5 separate regions of the Homo sapiens genome follow, and all the other regions are linked to region 1. Evidence: promoter capture Hi-C in 16 types of primary human blood cells and fetal thymus (Javierre and others, 2016). All regions are on one chromosome and are shown on one strand. Each heading gives the region's core, a stretch centred on a gene start or on the middle of the fragment in contact. The rest is flanking DNA. Distances are from core to core; before and after follow the strand shown. Region 1 holds the start of CENPC (centromere protein C). Region 2 has its middle 34 kb from the start of TMPRSS11A. Region 3 overlaps TMPRSS11A (transmembrane serine protease 11A). Region 4 overlaps TMPRSS11A (transmembrane serine protease 11A). Region 5 overlaps TMPRSS11D (transmembrane serine protease 11D).

Evidence for each region. Contacts are between HindIII fragments. The CHiCAGO score rates a contact against its expected background, and 5 or more counts as called.
Region 2: a contact is called between a fragment that was not itself captured here and the fragment with the promoter of CENPC in region 1, in 1 of 17 cell types (fetal thymus). The highest score is 6.6, in fetal thymus.
Region 3: a contact is called between a fragment that was not itself captured here and the fragment with the promoter of CENPC in region 1, in 2 of 17 cell types (fetal thymus and erythroblasts). The highest score is 10.8, in fetal thymus.
Region 4: a contact is called between a fragment that was not itself captured here and the fragment with the promoter of CENPC in region 1, in 14 of 17 cell types (naive CD4 T cells, total CD4 T cells, fetal thymus and 11 more). The highest score is 23.9, in naive CD4 T cells.
Region 5: a contact is called between a fragment that was not itself captured here and the fragment with the promoter of CENPC in region 1, in 2 of 17 cell types (fetal thymus and megakaryocytes). The highest score is 6.0, in fetal thymus.

The regions. Positions count from the first base shown.
Region 1 is chr4:67,544,178-67,546,816 of GRCh38, reverse strand. CENPC (centromere protein C) reads left to right here and starts at 1,314. Exons shown (of 19, transcript NM_001812.4): 1 at 1,314-1,479; 2 at 2,622-2,639. The coding sequence starts at 1,462. RefSeq lists a silencer at 1,030-1,169 and enhancers at 992-1,542, 1,320-1,559. The HindIII fragment of the contact is 5,245 bases long and covers 1-2,425 here.
Region 2 is chr4:67,996,093-67,998,731 of GRCh38, reverse strand. It overlaps the pseudogene TMPRSS11GP. Among named protein-coding and RNA genes, the nearest start is that of TMPRSS11A, 34 kb to the right of the region's middle. The HindIII fragment of the contact is 871 bases long and covers 910-1,780 here.
Region 3 is chr4:67,935,086-67,937,724 of GRCh38, reverse strand. All of the region lies in intron 3 of TMPRSS11A (transmembrane serine protease 11A), which reads left to right. Among named protein-coding and RNA genes, the nearest start is that of TMPRSS11A, 27 kb to the left of the region's middle. The HindIII fragment of the contact is 2,511 bases long and covers 90-2,600 here.
Region 4 is chr4:67,915,252-67,917,890 of GRCh38, reverse strand. The region is part of intron 8 of TMPRSS11A (transmembrane serine protease 11A); the gene reads left to right. Among named protein-coding and RNA genes, the nearest start is that of TMPRSS11D, 33 kb to the right of the region's middle. The HindIII fragment of the contact is 3,058 bases long and covers 1-2,639 here.
Region 5 is chr4:67,847,641-67,850,279 of GRCh38, reverse strand. The region is part of intron 3 of TMPRSS11D (transmembrane serine protease 11D); the gene reads left to right. Among named protein-coding and RNA genes, the nearest start is that of TMPRSS11D, 35 kb to the left of the region's middle. The HindIII fragment of the contact is 976 bases long and covers 818-1,793 here.

The DNA of each region.
Region 1 (2,639 bases), core at 65-2,564:
TAGAGTATGCAGTCAATAAATGTTAGTGTTTATCATTATCTATTCCAAATGTGACAGCACCAAATTATAAGTTGGACTGATTGGCAAAACTGCCAAACATAGTAAAAAACTCTCCATAATGATTCCAATAGCTTTATTATTGAATTCTTACTATGTTCCAAACATTGTGCTTAGATCTTAACAGGAATTATTCAATTACAACATCTCAACCACTTTAATAGTATTCTCATTTTGCAGACAAGAGAATTAAGGAACAGATAACTTAGTTGCCCATAATGGCAGAATTAATGGAATGGAGTGCAATCCAGGCCTAATTTCAGTCAGAGATCATAGTTCCTTTTTTTCTATCAAAAAAATAAATAAAATAAAAAAATTGGCCTTCATAGTTGACAGCATTTGTTAAAGCACTACATGTTTTAAAAATCTATTAGCTCAACTCCTGATTAATGTATTTATTCAATTAGTAAACTATTTTCTGATTAGAATTTTCTTGTAATTTTAAATTAAATAATAAAATAAGATACAGCTTCATAGAATCATACACTGGTCAGGTGAGAAGTCTTCAGAGCGTCTAATTTAGACTTCCATTCTATCACTATGGAAACACCCAGAATGGTGCCGCAATTTTGCCCTCCATAACATAGCTAGTCAATGGCTGGCAGGTTTCAGGATTCTGTATAGAATTCTTTTCAGTGCATCATACTTAAATGATAGATATTTACGTGGGTCATTTGTTGGCAATGCATCATAAAAATATCGCCCACATACTTGAAAAAGAATACAAGCCATCATCACCATTATTATACATAATTATTCAATTATTTTCAGAGATGATGGTTAGATGGGCTGGGCGTGGCTGACGAATCTGCATTAGAAAAATCTCTTCAAAAAAAGATTCTATTAAAAAAAAAGTCGTCTGCAATTTCTACCTCTCATCCTTCCAAGTATTACTTATTATTCCTTAATAGAACTGTTGAGAAGTTTTACATTGGGCACAAGGAGCGGTTCCCAGGATCGTGCCTTCCTAATAAAAGCCCAGTCTCGCGCCTGTCCCGGGCGCGGCGCTGAGGAAGGGAGGTGGGAAGAGCAGAGCGGCTAGAGGTAGGGCGGGCGGGTGGGTCTGCAGGCTGGAGGGCCGTTGGCCTGGAGCATGAAGGGGCGAGCCCACTAACGGCTTGCTTCCTATTGGACGGCGCGGCCCGTTTTGCGCATGTGTCTCCGGGTTCAAACCCAGGCACAGGCCAAGCGTTCTTGTTTGTTGAGGGCGGAGCCAATGGCGGGGGAGTGTTGTTAGCGCGCGCCTTCCGGATCGCAGCTCTCGCGGCAGTCGCCTGAGACTTAAGGTTATTGCTTGGCCGCGGCCTGGTATTCCGGCGATTCGTTTCTTGCTCGGCTTCCTGGAGCTGTGGTCCGTGTGGGCTTCCACCTCAGACAGTTGCGCTGGCTCAGCGGGGCCGGAACATGGCTGCGTCCGGTCTGGTAAGTGCAGGCCCCCCGCTCCAGGCGAGTGGTTGAGCGGCTGGCTGGGGCACGGGCGCCCGAGGCTGGGGAGAAGGAAATGCTAGGCTGAGGCTGTGATCTCTGAGGGATTTCAGTGGGAAAGCCGCAGGAATTTTTGAAATCAAGTGTGATCGTGTGTCGATAACCAGAGTTAATTTACTGTACTTTTATTATTTCTTAAGTTTTCATGTCGTCATTTCGTCTGTGCCTACGTCTTACTCTTGAGAGGTGCTTGTGATTTCTGCTGGGTTTTTTTTTGTTTTTGTTTTTGAGACGGGGTCTTGCTCTGTCCCCCAGGCTGGAGTGCAGTGGCGCGATCTTGGCTTCTGCTTTTTAGTCTAGCTCCAGTTCCTAGGCCTCCAAATAACTTTTCTCCCCATGGTAGAAGTATTGAAACGCCTTAAAAGTGTGTCTTTGCGTCACACTTGGTAGTTGGGAGAAACAGATTATGTAACAAGTACGTCTCGAAATAATTTGACGTTTTCAGTTCTTCTGTCAAAATGGTGGCCTTTTATGCAGTTCTTGAGGCTGATTTATGGAGCATATGTTATTGACAAACTCTTCTGAAAGACAGCTATCAGTTAAAAGGTACAAGCTGTGAATGACTAATGGGGGCGACAACTCATTTTGTTTACATATTTCTGGACTTCTTTGGTGTTCACTATTCTATATTTCATACTTTGGTTATGGTTACTATATAAAAATCCGTATCATTTCTTTTCTAATTTATCTCCCCTTCTAAGAAAATCTTCAGCTTCGATGATCTCCCATTATGTGACGTTATACATATAAACATAAAGAGTTGTATGAAAGAATAATATAATCTATACTTTTTACTATGAGCACATATATTGTTTACATTATATATAATCAGAAGAAAGCAATAAAGCCATTCTCACTGTGGGGAGAGAAGCGGAATAAAGCTTACCAGATGCCTGCAGTTCAGTTTTTAAATGCCTGTCATAACCTATGTTATGTCATAACATAACCTCAAAATTGTTTTGAGCCCTTAGGAGATGTTTGGTGTATAGCATGCCCATACTGGATGAAGTTACTTTGAAAATAAATTTTACTCGACTCTATCTTAAAGAAACCAAATTGATGATTTACTTTTCTTTCAGGATCATCTCAAAAATGGC
Region 2 (2,639 bases), core at 96-2,595, 450 kb before region 1:
TCCTTTATAAACATCTTAGGCTCCAGCCTGGCCAACATAGTGACACCCGTCTCTACTAAAAATACAAAAATTAGCTGGACTTGGTGGCACGTGCCCATAGTCCCAGCTACTCATGAGGCTGAGACAGGAGAATCACTTGAACCCGGGCGGCAGAAGTTGCAGTGAGCTGAGATCACACCATCACACTTCAGCCTGAGTGACAGAGTGATACTCCATCTCAAAAAACAAACAAACAAACAAACACCCAAAGAAGAAAACATCTTAGGCCTCCCGGTGCCACTTATGATTGTCCAGCAGGCTTAGGAATAAAAGACAGTTAACTGAAGAAGAGCAGAAAAAATTAGAAAGAGTATCTTCAGTTCCACCTGAAAATATACACTCCAACAATCTCAATTTTAAGTAGGAACAAGCCAGCATTGTGAAAAATTATACACACTCACCAGTTCTCCTGAGAGATATTTTAGATTAAAAAAAAAACTCTGTTAATAGTATTCTAAACTATAGGTTATATCTGGTGATCCCACATGAATACCTTTGGTGCTGTGCTTTTATTCTTTGTATATTTTTCGACAATTTAACATATAGAACACTTGGAAATAATAAAGAGATACAGTAACCCTAGTAAAATTTATATAAAATGGGAGAATATTCTGGATAAGATGCTAAATAAAAAGAAAGCATAAGGAAACAATATAAATATATAAAATATCGCTCCAATTTTACCTCTCTTTCTCTTTATAACTATACATACATTTATATGATTGTGCCTTGATATGAGTGTATATGTGAATCTACGTGTATATATGTCTACTTTATAATTATTTGTTTTCTTAAATTAATTTGTATTATTTTTATAGTCAAAAATGGCAATAATATAGGATAATGTGGAATAATATAAAAATACAAGCTTCCCTCAAGGACAGTAATTTAAGCTACCTTGGAATGGCGGTTTGTTAGCAAGTAGATGAAAGCAAAGCAGTCTTAGGAGAGAAGCCTCAGATAAGAAGGTGGGATGGTCCCAATCAATTATTACCTTAAAAAATTTGCCCTTCTCCCACATTTATGTCCCCTGCCCATCCACAGTCCTGGGCAAATTTAAATTAGAAATGAACCAACTGTATTCCTTTTACTCTGTGATCAGTGAAGAAAAACCCAAACTCTGGATGGCTAGTTTTGGAATAACCCGAATCCCTCACTAATGAGAAGAAAGGGGGAGTCAATTATTATTCATGAGAACTATGCTGCCCATAAACACGAGGATGATATCGCTGTAGTGAAGCTCTTCACCCCCATCATATTTTCCAATGAGGTGCACAGAGTCTGTCTTCCAGAAGCTACTTTTGAAGCCTTGCCTAAGAGTAAAGTGTTTGTCACTGGATGGGGAGCACTTAAATTAGATGGTGAGTATCTCAGTAAAACAACAAAGCAAAAAATATAAACCTATCCTTCATTTGAACAGAGATATGAAATAAAATACAAAATCAAAATAAATAAGAGATGAAATCAGATGTCCCATTATAAATATGGCAAAAACAAACAAATAAGAAACAGATGTGGTGAATTTCAAAAACTTTAGCACCATTACTATTACACGGTACCTATATTTATTGTCTTTATATGGACTATTTTGGAAACTGGTTAGAGCTTTATTTTCCAAATTTATTAAAGCATATTTTTACATCATTTTTTCTTTCAAATGCTTTCTTTCATATGTGTAGTTTCTGCTATGGCTGCTTGATTCATAAAGTGTATAATTTGCAAGCACTAGTAATGATAAGCTTTTGCAATGCATCATGCAACTAAACAGAAAGAGCCTTAAATGAATAAACTGAATGATTATTCTTTACCTGGCCCTAAATATTAAATGGGATCCCTCTGATCCGTGTATCTATGGAGCTGTTCTTCAACCTGAAACTTTATAAATTTGACAATAAACTACAAACATAGATGTTTAGATCCTGATATGACTTTCCCATTTTTATGTCTATTGGTTGACTTTTTACATATGAGAGTTTAATCTGCCCTCAAATTTCTAATTTTTGTTTCAAGCTCTTATTATGAAGTCATATGAGTCTAATCAGTTAATTTTTATAGAAGTCGGCTTCCCTCCAATATACACTCTAAAATTCTGATGTTGAGTCTAGGTGGATGCACTATCGTTATAATCTCAGATTATATAATCAAATTTTCCTCATCTCTGAGGGATCTGCATTGTTCTATAGGAAATGGTGATGAGTATAAAGGGGAATTAAATCCTTTAAGACTTAAAGCCACTTCCTGATAAAAGTAGAAAAGGAAAACATCTACTACTTGAGTAGCACCATTACGCTTACCTCTATAATCTTAACTAAACTTAACACCTCCTACTCCCAGAGCTTGGGAGTGATTTGCTACTTCATCATGAATCATTCAAAGCCCAATAGTGTGCAGAATACTGTGCAATGAGCTGTCTACTCTCATAAGTTGAATACATTTCACAATAACATTGTGGGTTTGTAAGGCATCAAAGTAAATTAATAGATATTTGATTGTATTTTTTTATTTTCCTGCACTTTGAAATGGAGACAAGGACCTACTAAGGTTCTCTTCTCCTACCTCCCAAGATTTAGCCAATCATATCTAATTAGAAATCTTGTTAC
Region 3 (2,639 bases), core at 96-2,595, 390 kb before region 1:
GGATGAAATCATGTCCTTTGCAGCAACATGGATGTAACACCACAAGGAAGGCACTTTTATCTCCTCTTTACAGGTAAGAGAACCAAGCTTCTGAAATTAAGGTCCATAGCTGGAAAATGATGGAGGGGAGATTTGAAGTCATCTAGGCAACTCCACACATGTGCTCTTTCCACTAAATTGTTCTACTGTCAGGAAGGGACTCAGCTAAGACAGAAGATAAAATTATTAAAATCTAAATCAATTCTTCTCTCATTTCATTTTTTAAATCCATGAAGATTATAAATCCTCTATGCTGTGCTAGCTAACTTTTTCTTGACAGATACATTAGGTATACTTATTAGAGAAAAATATTCTCTTTCTCATTTCCCTGTATCAGTTTTTGGTGAGGAAGGCAAAGGTAGGAGGAACTGTAATAGAGAAAGATGAAGGAAGCTGATGGATATATTGACATGTGTATGTACATCTAGTGTGAACAATCTATAGTTGGAAGAAAGGTGTGGATGGGTATGCTTTTTGAGGGAAGTTTTTGAGAAAAGAAGTAATATGAACTATTTCTAAATTTCCTGATAAAGTTGTAAATACAGCATAGTCTTCACAGGAGAATCTATTTAGTTTATCATCATCATTCAGCAAATACAGCATGATGTTAGGCACTACAAAAGGCTAAGAAAAATGATTCTCTCTCTCTCATAAACTAATCCAATTTAGAGATTTAGAAGACAACAAATCTGGAGAGGACATGAACCTTCTAAATAATGACCTTCCCTTGCTTTGGGTATCCTGGTTTTAAATATTTTTAGTACAGCTTTAAATAGATCCAAATGAGATATTTTCCTCTTTTACAAAAGCAATTCAAAGATCTAGGTTTTTGTTGTACACTGAGAATTAATACTTTTTTCTTTAAAATCCTTAATTGCAAATCTTTAAATTCTATAAATATTTTGCCTTGTGATCTCAGAAATATAAGCCAATTTGGGATATGGATATCTAATATATTGCTACTTGTTACACGTGAGTAGTGACAGATGTCTGTCCATTTCTTTCTGACATTCCACAAAGAAACACTGAAGAAGGACCAGTGCAATCAAAGAAATGACTGATGGCATCACAAAATATCACATCCCATTTGATGATCTGATTACCTTTTTGTTTAGGGTGATCAGAAAGTCACAGTTTCATGGCACCCTCCACACCCACACACCTTGTATGACACTGGATCCAACTGCTTTCTCCAATAGACACAGCACTTAAAGATGTGGCAGTTAGGCTTGACCCCAAGAAGGCCAAAAAGCCTTCTGTGAGCATCACTCAGTGCTCAGGTTGACTAAGCTCTATCCAGGCTTGAGAGAATGGTTCATAGCTGACTTCTTGGATCCAAAAAAAAAAAAAACACCTAGAGTTTTATACAGATATGATACGAACTTAAAAGGACTGCACTAAAAACTACCAAGATTATGATTCTTATTTTTGGAGAGTAAAGAAAATAGGCTGCCTTTGGAGAGGGGTGCAACAGTTTCTGATCCTCTTACAAACTGCTTGCTGCCCATCAGTGGGTAGGAGGTCTTAGTGAGAACCTACCTGCATGCTCATCCTGAGGTAGGCACTGTGAAGGCGTTAACAGGCTCTGAAGCTACATGGCCCTGGTTTCAGTGAACTCTGTGGTGTCAACTTGGGCAAGTCACTTCCTCTTCTATGAAACGTGAATAATCATAGTACTCACCTTAGAGGGCTGATTTGAAAGCAAATGAGCTCAAACACAATGACATCTGTGCTTGGTGCATATATGGCAGACAACAGTGATTCCCACTATTATAATTATTACAGTCTTACCAAGGAGGAGCTTTCCACAAATAATCAATTACCTAAAATGTCCAAAAACAGGAAAAAAAAATCTCTTCCGATAATTCATGTGTAATTTTCTTTTTTCTCTAGGAGCATTGATCTCAACCTGATGTAAAGCAAGCACTTTAAAAAGTCTTATAAAATTTTCCTGGTAAATGCAAAACTTTCTGATAAATAAATTCTCACCTTTTTATCAATTTGTTAATTCAACAAAAATATACTACATACCAACAGCATGCAAAGCACTATGTTAGATTTTATAGACTATGAAAAGATAAATTGCCATCTCTATGCATAAAGGGTTTGCCGTTTAATAAAAGAGACTATATATTTGCATAAATATATAGTGAATATATTGCATAAATATATAATATATGTTTACATTAAAGAATAAAAGGTATAAGAGGGATAAGAAAAATTGAGACAGAGGGAAGACAGGTCAGTTTGAGATTAACGAATATCCCCAAAGAAGGTATTATCTGAGATTGGCCTTGAAGGATAGTTGTGATTCAGGAACACAGAACTTGCAGAATGAGAAGGTTGTTACAGACCAAAGGAACAGCCTGAGAGGCGTGAGTATGCAGGAAAATGAGGGCCATGCCTGAAAGTACTGGTGGTGTTGAAGATGGAGCCAGGCAAGTTGGTCACAGAGGGAGAGGACCTTGAATGTCTAACATTGTGGACAGAGGCTCAAAGGCTCAAATTCCCTATTTTTACCTTGAGTTCAATCCTTGTGGCAATGAAACCTCAGTGAAGCTTTATTTAAGGCTAAAAGTGTCTTTTAAAAATCCCTCTTA
Region 4 (2,639 bases), core at 78-2,577, 370 kb before region 1:
ATCTAGTGCTGCTGTAAGCCTGACACCTCCCTAGGTCTGCACTCTCTTGGATGGATTTTCTCTGAAGATAGGGCTTGCATTCTCTGCTTCATAGTGGTGGGAAAGACATCACAAATCCCCTTTGGCTTGGTGGGAAAAATCACTTTCAGGAGTTTGAGACTGGCACAGAAACATACCTGTCATAATGCGCTGTGAGTGGCAACAGAATCTGACACTTATAGAGCACTCCACCCTACTTGAACACGGCCTCTCTTGGTGAGTGACCCACAGGTGCTTTTAATCTATTAAATAGATTAAATTAACCTATCATTCTTAATCTGTTAAGTACATTAATAGATTAAAAGCAGCCATTCGTTACTCACCAAGAGAGGCTATATTCAAGTCTGTAAAGCAAACCTTAAGAAGTTTTTTAAAATTGAAATTGTACAAAGTATATTCTCTGATCATAATGGAATCTAACTAGACATCAGTAACAGAAAGATAACATAAAAATCCCCAAATGCTTACCAATTAAAAAACATATGTAAATAAAGAGAATATCTCGAAGAAATTTGTAAAAACAAATAGAACTAAATGAAAACAAAAATATATAAATATATGCCAGATGCTGCTAAAATAGTGTAGAAAGGGAAATTTATAGAAAATGCATATTATAAGGAAAGATATCAAATCAATAATTAAGTTCTCACTTCAAGAAACTAGAAAAATAAAAAATAAACCTAAAACAAACATAAGGAAGGAAATAATAAGAATAAGAATAGAAATGAATAAAATTAAAAATAAACTATAGAAAATTGATAAATAAAAAGCTGATTATTTGATAAAATCAATATTTTGCTAGAAATGTCATTAAGCATTTTTACAGAAGATGAGATATAGCTCAGGGATGTCCAGAATTTATGGGCTATGCTTTTCATGACTTGGAATACATTTTACCAACCAGTTTAGTTTGCTGAAGAAGTTGTGGATTTGCACTGTCACCTACTTACAATACTTAGATTGTCAGTTTCACCTTACTCTTCTCACCATTATTTTATTTTTATTTTTATTTTTATTTTTATTTTGAAACAGAGTCTCGCTCTGTCTCCCAGGCTGGAGTGCAGTGGCGTGATCTCGGCTCACTGCAAACTCCGCCTCCCGGGTTCACGCCATTCTCCTGCCTCAGCCTCCCGAGTAGCTGGGACTGCAGGCGCCCACCACCATGCCCGGCTAATTGTTTTGTAGTTTTAGTAAAGAAGGGGTTTCACCGTGTTAGCCAGGATGGTTTTGATCTCCTGACCTCGTGATCCACCTGCCTCGGCCTCCCAAAGTGCTGGGATTACAGGCGTGAGCCACCGCGCGCCAGGCCATGAATGTTTTTAATTGATGATATAGTAGGCAATATAAATGTGTGTGTGTGTGTGTGTGTGTGTGTGTGTATAATATATATAAACCAATTGTATTCAAATAACAGAATAATTTGAAAAATCTCTTAGCATATTTCTGAGTTACACACTTAAATCTTCCGAGCACTTTTAAATATGTGTTTACAAACATTTCTTCAGAAATAAATCTTGGAAATCGTCTTCTAAAGAAACTGGTGTATTAGGGTTTTTTCAAATGTACTTAGTTTTTTTTTTAATTGATGTATAAAATTGCATGTACTTACCATGTGCAACATAATGTGTTGAAGTATAGTATATGTACACTGTGAGTGTTAAATCTAGTTAACTAAGAAGCGTCTTATTTTACATAATTATCATTTTTGTGGCAAGAACACTTAATATCTACTCTTGTAGCGTTTCTCAAGAATACGATATATCAACAGTAGGCAACCAGAAGCTGGGGGTCTTTACAGGGGAAGGAGTTAGGGAGATGCTGGTCAACAAATTCATATTTGCAGTTAGGAAGAAAAAGTTCAAGAGATCTCTCATCCATCATGGTGACTATAGCTGATGATATATCGTATTCTTGTATTAGTTTTTTATAAATGTGTAACAAATAATCACAAACAGTTAAAACAGCACTCATTTATTTTTATCTCACTGTTTTCATGAGTCAGACGTTCAGACACAGCTTAGTTGAGTCCTCTTCTCAGGGTCTCACCAAACTGTAATCAAGGTGTCAGCTGGGGTTGTGGCCACATCTGTGGCTCCTTTGAAGGTCTCCTCAAGGTTTGCTGGCAGAATTCCTTTACTCGCAGCTGTAGAATGCATGCCAGCTTGCTGCTTTAACTCTTTAGGAAAGTGTCTCAACTCCAGCAAGGCTCGCCCTTTTTGAAATGGCTCAGCTGATTAGGTCAGGCCCACCTTTGATAATCTCCTTTTGATGAATTCAAAGTCAAACTCATTAGAGGTCTTAATCGCATCTGTAAAATTCCCTCATCTTGGCCATATAACATAACCTAATCATGAGAATGGCATCCCTCATATTCACAGATCCTGCCCATATTTGGGAGGAGGGGAATCACACAGGAATCTTGGGGACTATCCTAGAATTCTGCCAACCATGGGGTCATGGTTTCCCAATCAATATATGGTTTGGTATAAAGAATCCCTGAATGCTTGTGCTATTCTTAGTTTTCTACGTAGCCTGCCATAATAATGGTTTCTAAAACTCAGAACCTAGCTTACAGTCTGCAGCCACCAACTTGTAATACA
Region 5 (2,639 bases), core at 56-2,555, 300 kb before region 1:
ATGCTTTCTAGTTAAAACACCTATTTAACACACTATTAAACACTAAGTGTGTTAAATAGTGCAGTTGATGTATTTGTCATGTCACCTTTATCATACACTAAATCCTTCTTTGTCTTTTTTTCTGTACTCTAATCTCTTTCTGTAAGTAATCTTTGCTTGCAGCAGTAGGATATTTAGAGTACTGTGGCTTGACAATATATTTAGTATTTCAAGATTTCCATGAAATTCTTCTGATGTATGAGTTCCCTAGTTAATCTTACATATGTATCCCTTTGTAAAAACACTTTGAACATTTAAAATGATACATGAATAGTACTCTAATACAATGCCATAAAAATTATAAATCATTTGTATAGACTGGTAAGTAAAGATTGTGAGATTAAGAAACGCATCAAAGGCCATTGAGCTGGAAAGTGGTATAATGAGAATTCAAACCAGGGTCTCTTGACTCAAAATCTAAGGATCATACCATTTCTCATGATAATATGAGTATTATTGTTATCTCTATCCCATAGACAAAGTGTTAACACTGAATGAGCAGTGAAATAGTCTCAGAATTTTTTATTTTATTTAGCAATTCACTTGTCATTTCTGGTCCTCAGTTTATTCACGAGTAAAATAAAATAGTTGGACTAGATAATTTCTATAGTACATTCTTACACAAAAAATCTATGATTTTGTTATTTTTAATGTGATATACTCATGGCACTCATTCACCTCATTTTCCCAGCCTGCCTCACTGGTCATTACTTCTCTGTGTTCTTTACAGGCTCCCCCTCCTCTACACTGCCATTAAATATTGAAACACCTCAAAGCTTTACTTATGTCCACCTCTCCTCTGACACTATCATTCTGTCTAGATGATCCCATACATACATGCCCATTACTTCAACCTGTATTTATACGCCAATGATTCACTATATTTCCAGCCTAGACATTCTTTTGTACTCTAGTTACCAGCTTGATATCCTTACATGGCTGTTTCAAAACAACTCAAATATATTATCTCTCAAAATCAAACTCATGATGTCCCCACACCATCCTAGCTTTCCACCAACAATACCTATCCCTATTAATAGCAATACCATTTATTCAGTTATCCAAATCAAAAACCTAGAATTCATCCTTAAAATTCTACTATCATTCCAAATATCCTATCCATCAGCAGCCACTGTATTCTTAATCCCCTGTATTTCCTTCAAATCCATTCACCTCTCTCCATATCCATTGCTGCATGACTATCCAAGCCATCGCCTCTACCCTAGGGTACCAAAATAGCAACAAACCTAATCTGTTCATTTGCATTATTTTTTCTCCAAAACTGATTATCTATATGTAGCAAGACAGATTGTTCTCAAATTGCAAATCCCACTATATTATCCTCTTGCTTCAAACACTTCCATGGTTTCCCATTGTTTATGATAAAACCAAATGCTTCAAGTTCGAAGACCGGCATGATTGGGAATTTCCTGTCACCCTAGCCTACTTGCTCTCCATGGTACAGTTGCACTGGCTTTCTTTCATTCCTTAAGTACAACCTGTTTCCTCCCACCTCAGGACTGTGCATGTGCCATTCATTCTGCTGAGGAGCCTTTTTCCTTCCACTTCAATCAGCTAAGTCTGATTCTTCCTGACAATCTCAGCTCAATAAGCATTTCCTCTAAGAAATGTCTCTAATATCATTAATTGGCTCAGGTCCCTCTACTGTATTGCTGCACTTTTCACAGTTATAATTTTACTTAATTATGAATGATTATTTGATTAGGTCTATTTCCATCCATTAGACATAAGCTTCATGATGGCCAGATTACTGTTTTCTATCCATCGTTGTATTCCAATACCTGACAGAAGGAGGGCGGGAGGTGGTGGCACACAAGAGATGCTCAAAAACAATTGTTGAATAAGTAAATGAATGAGGCCATTTAGAAATAACGAAAGTACCTGTTTACAAAGTACATGTATCAAAACTATGAATGCATTCTACTTACATGGTTTTCTCCAAATAAAACAAAAGACTTCAATCAGGATTAATACCTGGGATAAACTGAGTCATTAAATCTCTCCTTTGCCATCAGGAGTGACATTGAAACAAATGTCTGCAAACAACAAATACTTTTTTCCCAAAATATATTGAATGGCATTTCCATAAACAAACTAGAACATGGGAGGAGAAAGAAAGCAATATTAATTTAAAATTAATCTTATCACATAACTTATACCATCAGGGATTTCGGGTAAAATTCCTTTCAGGCACATCCATTTAACAAGAATTGATTGTTACTGAAAGCCTAGAAGAGAATTTGGCACATACTTGGTGTTCAAATATTTGTTGACTGAGTGAATAAATGATGCAAGTGTCTAAGAAACACAAAATAAGGACATGATTACAGTCACGGTGGAGTTCACAGTCATCTCCAAAATGAGGATATGCATCCCAGGGAGGACCAACAATTCATTGGAGTGCTGAAATAAAATACTCAAAGGTCATTTTACATGTATTTTTTCTCTAAATTACTTTTCTTAAGACACAGAAAACAAAAAAAGAAACTTAGCTTTGTTACTTTCTAACAAATAGTTAAATCATTAAACAGGATTGACACTAGCATCCTTGTTTGGTCTTATGCCTTAGGGGAACATGA